3 separate regions of the Homo sapiens genome follow, and regions 1 and 2 are each linked to region 3. The links are contacts of gene promoters, found by promoter capture Hi-C in blood cells and fetal thymus (Javierre and others, 2016). All regions are on one chromosome and are shown on one strand. Each heading gives the region's core, a stretch centred on a gene start or on the middle of the fragment in contact. The rest is flanking DNA. Distances are from core to core; before and after follow the strand shown.

Region 1 (4,554 bases), core at 1,639-4,138, 270 kb before region 3:
TCCTAAGTCATTTATTTGAAATATCTCTATCAACAAATTTCACCAAGAACAAAAGTTTTTCATTTGTGCACTGGGCTATAGGATGATCTTATCGCACACAATCTCATACAGTCTCTTTCAACAAGGTCTTAGCGTGCTTATCTGTGAAGTTCCTGGTAGCCAAATATGATTGAAATGTTCTATTTATGCTCACTGGATTAAGGAGATGTTGCAAAACTGCACAAAAACCTGGCAGATGTAAGCAAGGTATTACAGCCAGGGCAGTTAAGATCCGAGGGGAAGAGATCAATACATACTTTTGTAGTTTTTTCTTTTTCTTTTTCTTTTAAGAGACCAGAAAAGTTGTGCTTTTAGAAAAGGAAAAGGAAAAAATAGTAAAATGCTTTAAGATTTATAGCTTCTCTGAGCTTTTTCCAAACCCAAAACAGGGCACCATGATGCATGCTTGATGATGTCAGCCCAAGGGAAACAAAAATAAATCCAAAATATTCTCTCCAGATCCTAAAAGGCCCTATAAGGGAATTAAACTATGGTTATGGATGAACAGGGTTTTTGTTCTCCCTCTCCCGTACAAGGCTTTTAACCAGCACAAATAACCGATTTCTGGGAAAACAGTTTTCAAAAAGCTACAGACTTTTCCTTTATCTCCTTGTTCTGCCTGGATACATGCGAAGGAAATGTTGTCTCCTGGTTATCCAGGATCATTTTTATATGTTTCCACTCTAGCCAGGGAGACACAATGCTACCTTCAGATCCCATGGACCAGCCATGGAAACTCAGAGATTGTTGAGAATAACTGAGGTTTATTAAAGGCCTAAGAAGAAAGTTCCTCTGGAATTAAACCATTCTGAAAACCTTTTTAATGTATATTGCCTCATTCTTTCTGCTTTGGTACACTGAAAATTAAATTACTTTTCTATGAGGATTCTGAGCTGGAGAGCTATCACTCTAAACATCAATTATGAACACAAGATAAGAGACTGAACGGATTACCTGTACGGGTACCAAATCACATTGTAAACATTATTGTCATTTTAATGAAGAAAAAAAGCAAAAGCCAAACAGATATTAGCTTCCTTACTGGTTCTTTCTTCCTTTCTTCTAGAAAAATGCAAAAAAGAACATCTAGTCAACCCAGGTTTTGGTTTTTTTTTTTTTTTTTTGAGACAGAATCTCACTCTATCGCCCAGGCTGGAGTGCAGTGGCGTGATCTCGACTCACTGCAACCTCTGCCTCCCAGGTTCAGGCGATTCTCGTGCCTCAGCCTCCAGAGTAGCTGAGACTACAGGCATGAGCCACCATGCCCAGCTGATTTTTTTTTAATTTTTAGTAGAGCGGGGGTTTCACCGCATTGGCCAGGCTGTCTCCAACTCCTGACCTCAAGCGATCCACCCGCCTCGGCCTCCCAAAGTGCTGGAATTACAAGTATGAGCCACCGTGCCTAGCCCCAACTGAGGTTTTAATGATAAAGAAGGTAATGCATTTATAGATCATGTCTGACTTTGAAAGGGCTTCCTGAGGATCATCTCAACCACCCTGTGGCTGACATGGACAGTATAGAGCCCATTTTGTGGATGGAGAAAGTGAGGCCACATGACTTACTTGCCCCTATAAACAGGCAGACTTCGCCAGACTTCTCACCTCAGGGTCTGCCTTCATATTCCTACCTAAGCCAGAGTCTTTCCCTGAAAGGGGCAGGAAAACCAGCAGCTAAAAAGGAGTCACCGAGAGCATTCCTGGGATTTTCTCCATCTAATTGAATAGAAGCAAGAACAGAGAGGCCTCTAAGAAAAAAAGTAAATTGAATGATGGTACCCAGAGTCTACTGACAGGCTGTGGGTCTCGCAGGGACTTCATAACCTTCTACAGGGAAGGCAAGCCGACTCATGCCCCACTGCTACTCACCCTATATCTGTTAAGCGCCTACCGTATGCTGGACTCCAGTAAAGTCAGGCTGCTCCTGACCCACAGCCCTTCTAGGTAGGTTGTCCATCAACGCAATTTTCCATCATTGCATTTTGTTGATTTCCTTTATAACATTTAACACAATTTTCAGTTATATATTAGCTTTTTATTAGTATTCTTTATCTCTACTAGACTATAAGTTACATTAAGGCAGAAACCATCCACTATAACCTCAGAGTATGCCAGGGTGTGCTGTATAGAGTAAGTATTCAGTACACTTTTCTAAATAGCTTTACTGAGGTATTTTCCACGTACCACAAAATTTATCCTTGTCAAGTATACCATTCACTGGTTTGTAGCATATTCATAGAACTGTGCAACCATCATCACTATCAAATTCCAGAATATTTTCATCACCCTGAAAAGAAACCTCGTACTCATTAGCAGTCACTCTCCATTCCTCCCCTCAACCCCCAGCCTTTGGCAACCACATATGTACTATCTTCCTCTACAGATTTGCCTATTTTGAACATTTCATATAAATGGTATCATACAATATGCACCCTTTGGGGTCTGGCTTCTCTCACACAGCATGTTTTCAAGCTTCATTCCTATCATAGCTTGTATCAGTACTTTGTTCCTCTGTAGGGATATACCATACTTTGTTTATCCATTCATCAGCTGATGGACATTTGGTTGTTTTGACCTTTTGGCTATTACGAATAATGCTGCTATGAACATTTGTGTACAAGTTTTATGTGTGGACATATGTTTTCACTTCTCTTGGGTATATACCTAGGAGTGGAATTGCCAGCTCATATGGTAACTCTATGTTTAACCTTTTAAGGAACTGCCAGACTGTTTTCCAAAGCAGCTATACCATTTTACATTCCCATCAGCAATGTATGAGGTTTCCAATTTCTCAATACATTTTTGGACTAAGTGAATAAATGAATAAAGATTTCCTCTGCTGTAAAAGCCCCCCAAAAAGGGGATACAGTTCTGAGGCTTCTTTGGTAAACTAGCATCTTCATCTGCAGACATGACATGCTACACTCATATTTAACAGAAACCCCAAAGAATGCTATTTATATGTAGTTCCTTTTAGAGAATCAAGTGAAAAATGAAGAAAAGGAAAGAAAAACACCAGACAGCTCAAAGTGGGCACTCCTTTCACATATGTGATTTCAACCCCTACCCTCCAGCCCACGTCTAAACTCAATAATTTAATAATGCACCTTCCTTGAACAGATTTAGTTGAAAATATAAGAGGGATCCCAGCTCAACTGAAGCCAGCTTTGATTTGGTCAACAGTGAGGGAAACATGATTTGACAGCCCTTGCTGTCTCTGGTAGAAAGCTTGAAAATATACTTAATAATAATTAAAACATAAACGCATGAACAAAAATATCCCAGGCAAGCTCCAGGAGTGGGACCCACGGTGCTGGAACCTGCTGAGAAGACAGCCAAGGGCGAGAGCCTCTCTTCCTGGCCTTGTTAGAGTGGGCATGGTGTCCCACAGCAGGCTGCGGCAAGAAGCTCTGTTAAGGGCTCCCCAAACTTCTTTTTCTACCCCCTTTTCTTTTTTGTAAAAGAAGTCAGCCGTATTCCTTTCTACACAGACTCCTTGCAAAGAACAAACAAACAAAGGCTGGGACAGAGCAAGGCCCTTTGCAAGCTGCAGGTAATTAAAACGGCCTGTAAATGCCCCAGTAGAAAGCACTTCAAAGAGACAGTAATTCCAGCAATGGCCAGTCAAGGCTGTGTGGTGTGAAAATTATGAGTTTTCCCAACAGGGAGCTTTGTGTGAAAAGGACAGGGGTTGGTGGCAAAAGGAGGGTGAGCCACACGGACGAGGTTTACAATTGGTGTCCATGCCCAGTGTGCGTGGGAGTGTGTGTGTGTGTGTGTGTGTGTGTGTGTGTGTGTCTGGCAAACACACAGGCCAGAGAAAGGGGATTGTGTGCATGTTTGTGAGAGCACACATTTATCAATGCTGAGACGGTCCAAGCGTGTGGGCATGGAGATAAAAGGAAAAATAAAATAAAAGCAACAAATACGAATCCTCTTCCCTGCTGGGCCTCATTTTCATGGGGAAAAGCACCAGGCAGCTTGCGTGCTCCTCTTGCTCCTTACACGCAAGGCTCCCGAGCACACAGGAAATGCATAATACCAGTGACTCGAGGCCCAACGAGCACAGAGGCCAAGCAGCGGCTCTCTGGAAACATCCACACTTTCAGTCTCACGGTGCAACACAATACCCAACAACATACTGCATGCTATGTAATCTTGAAACAGAATGAAGAGATCGATTCTTAACCTTGACTCTGACTGCATTTGCTAAGCCACCTGTGCTACCCGCCTGGGTGCCCTGTGCTTAGATGATGCAGCGACGGTCCATGGCATGGAGGAGAAGAGAGGCTGGAGCCTCAATGCACAAGGACGTTGGCCCCACTCTTACAATACACTGACACACATCAGTGATCACCTGACCACAACATCACACATCTGGGATGGAGGGAGGACCTGTCACTAGCGTATTTTTTCTACATTTTTGTGTAATCTCCCTGCAGGAACCTGATACTTCCAAAAGGACATTTCACTAGGCAAGAGGGTCAGTACCATCCCTAGAAGCCTTCCCCAGTAGCT
Region 2 (4,412 bases), core at 931-3,430, 300 kb before region 3:
GTTCTTTCCCTCAAGGAGATGTGTACTCCCAGAGAGGAGCTTGAAGGCTCTCTCTCTCTCTCTCTCTAGCTCTCTCTCTTGCTCTTTCTCCTTTGTCAACAAAACAAAAAGCTGATCCAGAACCAGAGTTTCTGGAAGATACACAGATTCAGGGAAGAGGGAAAAGGGAAAGCAGGTGAGCAAATCCTGGCTGAAAGGAAAACAACCAGCCCCATTGATAGGTCCAGGATATGGTTCAAGGGTAGCTGTGGTTGACAAGGCTGTGGGGAAAGATCCTCAGAGTTCGGCCTCACTCACTACAAGATGGGAGGGTGAATGAACTAATGATACAGGACCCCACATAAATATAGGATGGAGAAAGACACCAGGGAATTCTCCTGGGCTGAGCAACAGAACAACGGGAGTCACCTGGGATGGAGGACAGGTGGTTTTTAGATCTCCAAAAGCCAGTGTCCCACCAGTGACCTGGCAAATGACTGACACCTCATGTGTGGCTAAATATCCACTCTGCAGAAGAGGAAACCCTGGACTGGGTCAGGAGGAAATGCTGAGACATCTCTATGGCTGAGGGAACATTTCTTATCCTACCTAATAAATGTGATGCTACTAGGAAGCTGCATGGTGCCCTTGTCTCTTACTGGGATCCTGCAGTCCCTCTCTCAAGTCCCACAGGGAGCACACAGGTCTACCTTGTCCCTTATCCCTGCAACTCAATTCTCAGCCAGAGTGGCTTGGAAAGCTCTTTTGTTACCCCTTTTAGCACCAGCGGGTAATCCAACAGGCTTAGAAACACTGTCCACAGCCAGAACACACACATGCACTCAATATTAAGCTGCACAGTAAGGTAGTGAAGAGCACGCTCTCTGGAATCAAACAAACTCTGGTTCAAGTCCCAGTTCTACCATGTCTAGCTACCACCCTGAAGAAGTGAATTATCTCTTCTGGGCCTGTTTCTTACCTAGAAAACTGGGCTCAGAGTGTTTATGCCACAGGGTTGGTTGAGGGATGATTAATTTAAATAATATATGTAAAGTGTTTAATACCCTGTCTGGCATACAATAATAGCCCAATAAATGCTAGTTGTCATTAAGACCAACATCATCATTGTCATCAGGAGATAAAATAATAGCAAGGTATAAGACACACACAAACATCAAATGCATGCAAGAGATATATCACGCAATTTAAAATATTCTTACCTCTCCAGCCAAAACACACCAGTAAAGATGGGGTCAGATCATTCTTCCCCAGGAGGAGATCAAGGAAATGACACCCCTACCGTCTGCTCCCATCATCACTCATGGCCAATGTTTAATGGTATTATTACCCTCCTACTGCCTACCCAGAAGGGAACCAGGGAATGCAAACCAGTTTGAGATGATTTATGTTTTTAAAAATACATGAGTGAATTATTTTAAATAAAATGCAAGTAGGATAGTAAATTTGTTGCAGATTTTTTAAAAATACAGGCCAGGTGCAATAGCTTGTGCCTGTAACCCCAGCCTGGGTGACGGAGTGATACTCTGTCTCCAAAAAAAATTACAAATATTCCTGAAGTCTAAGAGTAGTGACTCAGGGGTTCACCTTACCATTGCTTCTAATCTCTTTCTTCTCCTGGCAACTTCTATGACTGAGCAATCATGGTATTGTGGTAGTCAGCACAAGGGCACAAAATCTCTCTTACTACAGGAATGTCAGTCCCTGCTGTGATGAACCAGACTTCCTTCCAGACATGCTTTGCCAACTGAGAGATCTCTCGGAGGTTAACGGTCAGGCCCCCTCAAAATGAAGTCCCGGGCCGGGTGCGGTGGCTCATGCCTGTAATTACCCAGCACTTTGGCAGGCCGAGGCGGGCGGATCACCTGAGGTCTGGAGTTGGAGACCAGCCTGACCAACATGAAGAAGCCCCATCTCTACTAAAAATACAAAATTAGCCGGGCATGGTGGCACATGCCTGTAATCCCAGCTACTCGGGAGCCTGGGGCAGGAGAATCGCTAGAACCCCGGAGGCAGAGGTTGTGGTGAGCCGAGATCGCACCACTGCACTCCAGCCTGGCAACAGCAACAGCTCAAATCCAGAGACGGCTTTAAGGTTCTACCGGTACGGTACCAGCATCAACTTCGCAGCCTCACTTCCCTCCTGAAAATGTAGCTATTCATCCTCATATGATAGCTTAAACAAGAAACTATATGAAGTACCTGGCACATAGCAGGTGCTCAAGTCACAGTCATTATCATGATTATAGAATAATTTCACTTCATCAAGCTGATGAGCTCCAGGAGGACAGCTCCTGGCCACAGCCTACAGGGTATGCAGCCCATAGTATTTCCAGTCCCACAGCTCTGGGAGAAGCCCAATCGCAATAAGTAAATGGCCTGCATAAATGAGACACTATGTTCTCTAAGGCTCTCGTATACATGATATTATGCTATCTGGAATGGGAGACAGGACCACCCTTAGGTAAGACAGGGTAGATAACTGGCTCAAGGAGGGTTCTGCTGGCCAGCGCACCCAAGATTTTCCAAAGTACCAAAAGAAACTGACTTGCGGTCCTGACTGTCACTGCCTGAGCTGTGTAACCCTTGGTGAATCCCTTTATCTCTCCATCTTGAAATGACAAGTTTTAAACTGGGACATCTCTAAGGGAGAAAGGATGAACAGGTGTTCATGAGAAGCTGGGCGCTCATGGCAAAGAAAGTTAAACGTGGCCGTACACGAGAGCTCAAATGCATACAACCCTTGGTGTTTGGAAGGTGCTGTTGAGACCAAGCGAGGGCTGGGTTCCCCGGTTCAGCCAGCAGAATCCTTCTCAAGGTGAATATTCTGCTCTATCAGGCAGGTAGAATGGAACAGAGAGTCCAGACATTGGGAGAATCATTAGCCAGAGTCAGGCTGGGTCAGTGCGGCTGTGCCAAAGACTGACCCGAGTTCCAGGGAATACCTGGGCTTTCAAGTGTTCATAACTTTGTTTTGTTTAAGAGAGATAGATAGCTTTGCAACCTTGGCATTTGTGAGAGGCTGGATAATAAAGCCAGGGATATAAGAGTAAGGGTTTCTGCCATGATTTTATGGGACATCTCCGCAACTCCTAAACACCAACAATCACCCTCCTCCCAGGTCTCCCCTTGGGGATTCTCAGGAGAGAAGTTCAGAATGAAAAGAGAAGTTTCTGTTGGCCCCCAGCAGTCCCAAAGCTCAGCCTGTGATCTGAGCCTTCGGTCTCCTCTCATCCTCATCTATTCTGCTCCTTTCTTCTGAAGCAACTTCAGAATGCTCCGTCACAGGCCCCCACCCTAAATATGGCATGGAGGATTTCACACATACACACACACACACACACGCACGCACACACACACACACACACACACCCCTCTCCCCTGAGTAGGATTCACAATACTGGCTGGGCAATGGAAAAAAGAAGACTAAGACCCCTCCAAGGGTGGTGGCCGGGATCCAAGTGCCTACTCCACCCATTTCAAGCTGATAACCTGGCCCTGCCCCGGTCCCCCAGCATCTCCTGACACTCCTGCCAAATGACATACCTCATTGGAGGTATTTTAAAGGGAATAGGAGGCAGCATTCCTCAGTCTCGATGGCATTCTTGGCTTCCCTCACTTTCTCCAGGCTGGTCCCTGCCTCTCTCATTTCCCACTGACTGAAGAGAATGCCGAGTCCTCTCACAATGCTGAGATCTCTTTGGCATCTCAATATTGATAATTCCTTCATTGCTTGGGTCTCAGAATCCCCTGTCCTCTCCCAGCTACTCGGGAGGCTGAGGCAGGAGAATCATTTGAACCCGGGAGAGGAGGTTGCGTTGAGCTGAAATCACGCCACTGCACTCCAGCCTGGGCAACAGAAAGAGACTCTGTCTCCAAAAAAAAAAAAAGTTTGCACATGTATAAAATGGGGGGTAATCTTAGAGTTGTTGGGAGAATTAACTGGTATATTGCATGTAAAGTAGTTAGCACAATGCTTGCATCATAATGAATGGGCAACACATGTTATTAGTATTTTTATTGTGATGACTGTCAACACTATGGCAGCAGCAGCATTGTGACTCCTTATTGCAGGGCAGCCTTTGTAGGTTCCTTGGAAGGGAAGGAGTGAAAGTATTGGTGTTGTGTGCCTGTTGAGCTCCACTTTCTGTGCTGGGCACCTTCATGTGCATCATCTTGTTTAAACCTTCAACAACCTTACAGTCCCATTTCTGAGTGAGTGGTGTCACTGCTGTTGTGCAACTTTGAAGTCCTGCTTTTAGGATAGGAAGGATGTATCATCATCTCTTTAACAGGTGAAGAAACCAAGGCTCAGAGAGTTAAGCTGCTAACGCTCCTGATTTAGCTAGTGGGTAGCTGAGCTAACATCTCAGTTCTGTCAACATCCAGCCCAGGTTCTCCACTAAACTGCCTGT
Region 3 (4,256 bases), core at 1,003-3,502:
TACGTTTCCTGAGGCCTCCCAGTCTTGCTTCCTGTTATGCCCCTGAGTCAAACCTCTTTTCTTCATAACTTACCCAGGCTCAGGTAATTCTTTATGGCAGTGTGAGAACAGACTAATACAAAGGATTATAGGTTTTGACAGCACTTACACACAATAAACATGCAATTTCCTAAAATGAATGTGTAAAGACAAATAAGGGTTGCTCCAGAGACATGGTAAATAAAGCATTCTAGCAGTGTAGAAATAGGCAATGCTGTAAATAAGCTAGACTCAGAAATCAATGTGGGCTGGGCGTGGTGACTCATGTCTGTAATCCCCAAATTTTGGGAGGCCAAGGCAGGAGGATTGCTTGAGACCAGAAGTTTGAGACCATCCTGGGCAACACAGTGAGATCCCATCTCCATAAAAAAGACACAAAAATTAGTTGGGCATGGCACATGCATGAAGTCCCTGCTGCTTCAGAGGCTGAGGCAGTTGGACTGCTTGAGCCCAGGAATTCAAGGCTGCAGTGAGCCATGATCTCACTACTGTATTTCAGTCTGGGTGACAGAGTGAGACCCTGTCTCAAAAAAAAAAAAAAAAAAAAAGAAAACCAGCATCAACCTGAAATCAACCTGTTCTACAGTGACACCCAGGTTGAGGCCATAAACACAGTCACTCATGAGGAAAGGAAAAATGGCAGAGCCACATACATAAAATGTCCTACTACTCGCAGACACAAACACAGTCAGCCTGTTGAATGTGGAAGATTCCAAGTTAGTATCACCGCAGCCATGCCAATCTGCCAGTTAATCTGCCAGGGGAAGCGGATCCCTGTATCTCCAGGTGGTGGAAGTTGCAGGAGTCCTAGTTCAGGCCTCAGAGAGTAATCTGGCCTCTCCTGGGAGCTGCACCTGACCTGTACCTGTTTCCTTTTGTCAAAAACTGCGCCCGCATGCAGACTAGGGAGGCCTGCAGGTGAAACATAACAATCCCAGCGACAACAATGCCAGGAGTATAGGAAAGGCCACCGTCCATGTTAAATTCACACTTAAAAGTGTAGCTTGAGAGTCAGACCAGACCAGGGCAAGGGTGTAGGTGCTACTCTTAAAAGACGCGCTTCCACACTCAGCCTCTACGCAGATTTGGGACACCCAGCAGCCTGTCAAGTGGGTTTGCCATCATAACACATTTGTATCTTAAATGTGAAACATGGTTCAGTAATCACAATTCCCACACAGTTGTTGAAAATACAATTCAGGCCTGGCGCGGTGGCTCACGCCTATAATCCCAGCATTATGGAAGGCCGAGACGGGCGGATCACCTGAGGTCAGGAATTCGAGGCCAGCCTGGGCAACATGGTGAAACCCTGGGTGTGGTACAGCGTGCCTGTAATCCCAGCTACTCAGGAGAATCGCTTGAACCCAGGAGGCGGAAGTTGCAGTGAGCCGAGACCGTGCGGCTGCACTCCAGCTTGAGGGGACAGAGTGAGACTCCGTCTCAAAAAAAAAGAAAAAAAAAAAAACAAACCGAAACCAACCAAACAAAAAACAATTCAATAGGAGCACCTGGTCTTTTAACATGAAATCGTAAATATCTGGCTCAAACGTAACAAAGTAACACAAAATTTTAGTTTGAACTTCTGAAAATCGAAAATGGAAAAACTGCAATTTTCCTTATCATGCCCAGGTTAAGAGCATCAGGGTTAAGGGCACCAAGCGGGACACCCATGAACGGAGGCTTTGGTCCGTTTGGTTAGCTTTAGACAAGCGACTGCATTCATCCTCCTTCTCTCCTTAAAGATGGTGAACACTTCTTCATGTCATTGGAGTTGGAAATGGCTACAAAGCCTGATGGGAAATCCTTTATTCCACGGTCATTCGGCAGTTTCCCACGGCGGGGGAACAGTTTTAACTCGCCCGTGGGGAGGGTGGAGCCGGAGGTCAGTCCTACAAATGAGGTTTTGAGGGCAGAGAGCGGAGAAGACTCAGGAACGCGGCTCCCAGGATTCGCAAACCCAGTTCCCGGACACTGGCAGCGCGGCCCGCAGCCTCCACCGGCTGTGAAGCTGACCAACAGCGACAGGCGGGGCCGGGATCACGTGACCGACGTCTGGTCAGCCGGGCGTGCGCGGGAGCACGCAGAACTGTTCGGCCCCGGGCCGCGCGCCTTGCGTGCGCGCGCATGCCGGGGGCGGGGCATGTGGGCCAAGCCTCCGGCGCGCGCTGCGGGCGGGGGCGGGACGGAGCGGGGTGGAGGGCGGGGGCGGGGCCTAGTCCTGAGAGGCTGGGCCGGCGGCGGCTGCGGCGGGAGACCGGTGACCCGCGGCTGGGCGCCTCGGCCATGACTGCGGAGCTGCAGCAGGACGACGCGGCCGGCGCGGCAGACGGCCACGGCTCGGTGGGCTCCGCGGCGGCGAGCGGGAGCTGGGGGCGGGCTCCAGGCCCTGAGGGGAGCGTGCGGGGCCTGCAGGGCTGCGGGTTGCGGGCTGCGGAGGGCGCCCCGGCCGGGCGGGACAGGGGGTGCGCCCGCCAGCGTGGGTGAGAAGGCCAAGGGCTCTGCGGGGCTCGGGCCGCGGAGATTGAGGACTGCATCTTCGCGTCCGTGGGCGAGCTGAAGTTGTAGGGGGATTTCCAGATTTTGGAAAACCAAATATAAAGGGCTGGACGTGGGGTTCTCCGCCGCAGGGATCAGTAAGGTGAGCCCTCCTGGGCCCCGTCCGGGGTGAGAAACTTCCGAAAGCGGCAGCGTTGGTTGGTTTTGTTTTGCTTTGACTTTTAAATCAGTTTTATGGCGGCGTTTTTAAAAGGTTAAAGCAGACCGAAGTTATCTCACTTAAAGTCCGGAATTAATCACCGTCTTCTATAAGACCAGGGGTCCCAGTTACCACCACTTCCCTCCCTCCCAACCCGGCTTTAAAAACAAAACAGCGCAGCCTCCCCAATTATTGCCTTCATCGCTCTAGATTTTTAAGGAGGGGGAGGAGCTGCGTGATGAATAGAAAGTCTACTGATGATGATCTCCTGTTCCCAATGTCTAAGAAGATTGAAATCAATATAAGGACTTCTGATCTAAGAATCTGGTGAGAGTGAAAGAACCCTGGTTTGAGAGAAAAGCTAATGTCTGTATGAAGAAACTTGGGAAGAGGGCAATTTGAGCATGTCTTCTAGTGTTACTTCGGAATGTTATAACTTAACACCACCTCCTCACCCCTCAAGTACTGCACTTTTTCAAGAGAAAACGGGAAATCTGTGCCAGTTGTTCAAATACGAGTTTGGAGATGAGAAACTATATTTGTCGTACAAAGCTGGCAGACAGATACCCTCAGGTGAGAATCCTTTTATACCTTTTTACTCTTTTGTCTGGAAGGCCAGTAGTATTTAGCATGGAGACACTTTTTTTTTTTTTTTTTTTTTTTTTTCGACAGAGTCTCCCTCTGTTGCCTAGGCTGGAGTGCTGTGGCGCGATGTCGGCTCACTGCATCCTCCGCCTCACCCTCCTGAGTAGCTGGTATTACAGGTGCTTGCCACCGGCCCGGCTAATTTTTGTATTTTTAGTAGAGTCGGGGTTTCACCATATTGGTCAGGCTGGTCTCAAACTCCCGACTTAAGGTGATTCGCCCGCCTCGGCCTTCCAGAGTGCTGGGATTACAGGCGTGAGCCACCGCGCCCAGTCTGGACGCACTTTTTTTTTTTTTTTTTTTCCAGACGGAGTCTCACTTTGTCGCCCAGGCTGGGGTGCAGTGGCGCGATCTCGGCTCACTGCAACTTCCGTCTCCCGGGTTCAAGCGATTCTCCTGCCTCAGCCTCCCGAGTAGCTGGGACTACAGGCGCGTGCCACCACGCCCAGCTAATTTTTGTATTTTTAGTAGAGATGGGATTTCACTGTGTTGGCCAGGATGGTCTCGGTCTCTTGACCTCATGATCCGCCCGCCTCGGCCTCCCAAAGTGCTGGGATTACAGGCGTGAACCAGGGCGCCCAGCCTGGATGCGCTTTTTAAAACTCATGTAGAAAAAGATACTTCCAGGTCCTGGGCTCCGAAACGAAAGTATCATGCACTGACTTCTAATGGAAATATTGTTAGATGTTCACAAGTGCCTATTGAAATGTGTCAAGATTTTTCTCTGGCTTCAGAGGTCAGTTCTATTTGTTTTTAGCACAGTGATTTAAAAACATGGGAAAATTTTAGTTTGGAGACTATCATATTGATTTAGAGAAGAGACTATTTTAAGGGAGAGAGAAGTCATATTTAAATTTGTCGTGGCTCAGTCATTTAA

What was found. Contacts are between HindIII fragments. The CHiCAGO score rates a contact against its expected background, and 5 or more counts as called.
Region 1: a fragment that was not itself captured here is called in contact with the fragment with the promoter of USP28 in region 3 in 2 of 17 cell types (total B cells and neutrophils); the score reaches 9.9 in total B cells.
Region 2: a fragment that was not itself captured here is called in contact with the fragment with the promoter of USP28 in region 3 in 1 of 17 cell types (total B cells); the score reaches 5.2 in total B cells.

The regions. Positions count from the first base shown.
Region 1 is chr11:114,143,458-114,148,011 of GRCh38, reverse strand. All of the region lies in intron 2 of ZBTB16 (zinc finger and BTB domain containing 16), which reads right to left. Among named protein-coding and RNA genes, the nearest start is that of ZBTB16, 86 kb to the right of the region's middle. The HindIII fragment of the contact is 756 bases long and covers 2,511-3,266 here.
Region 2 is chr11:114,174,936-114,179,347 of GRCh38, reverse strand. All of the region lies in intron 3 of ZBTB16 (zinc finger and BTB domain containing 16), which reads right to left. Among named protein-coding and RNA genes, the nearest start is that of ZBTB16, 120 kb to the right of the region's middle. The HindIII fragment of the contact is 5,598 bases long and covers 1-4,412 here.
Region 3 is chr11:113,873,568-113,877,823 of GRCh38, reverse strand. It overlaps USP28 (ubiquitin specific peptidase 28), which reads left to right and starts at 2,252. Exons shown (of 26, transcript NM_001346252.4): 1 at 2,252-2,379. The coding sequence starts at 2,323. RefSeq lists enhancers at 1,032-1,693, 1,744-1,993, 1,983-2,277, 3,864-4,256 and silencers at 2,014-2,173, 2,194-2,553. The HindIII fragment of the contact is 13,869 bases long and covers 1-4,256 here.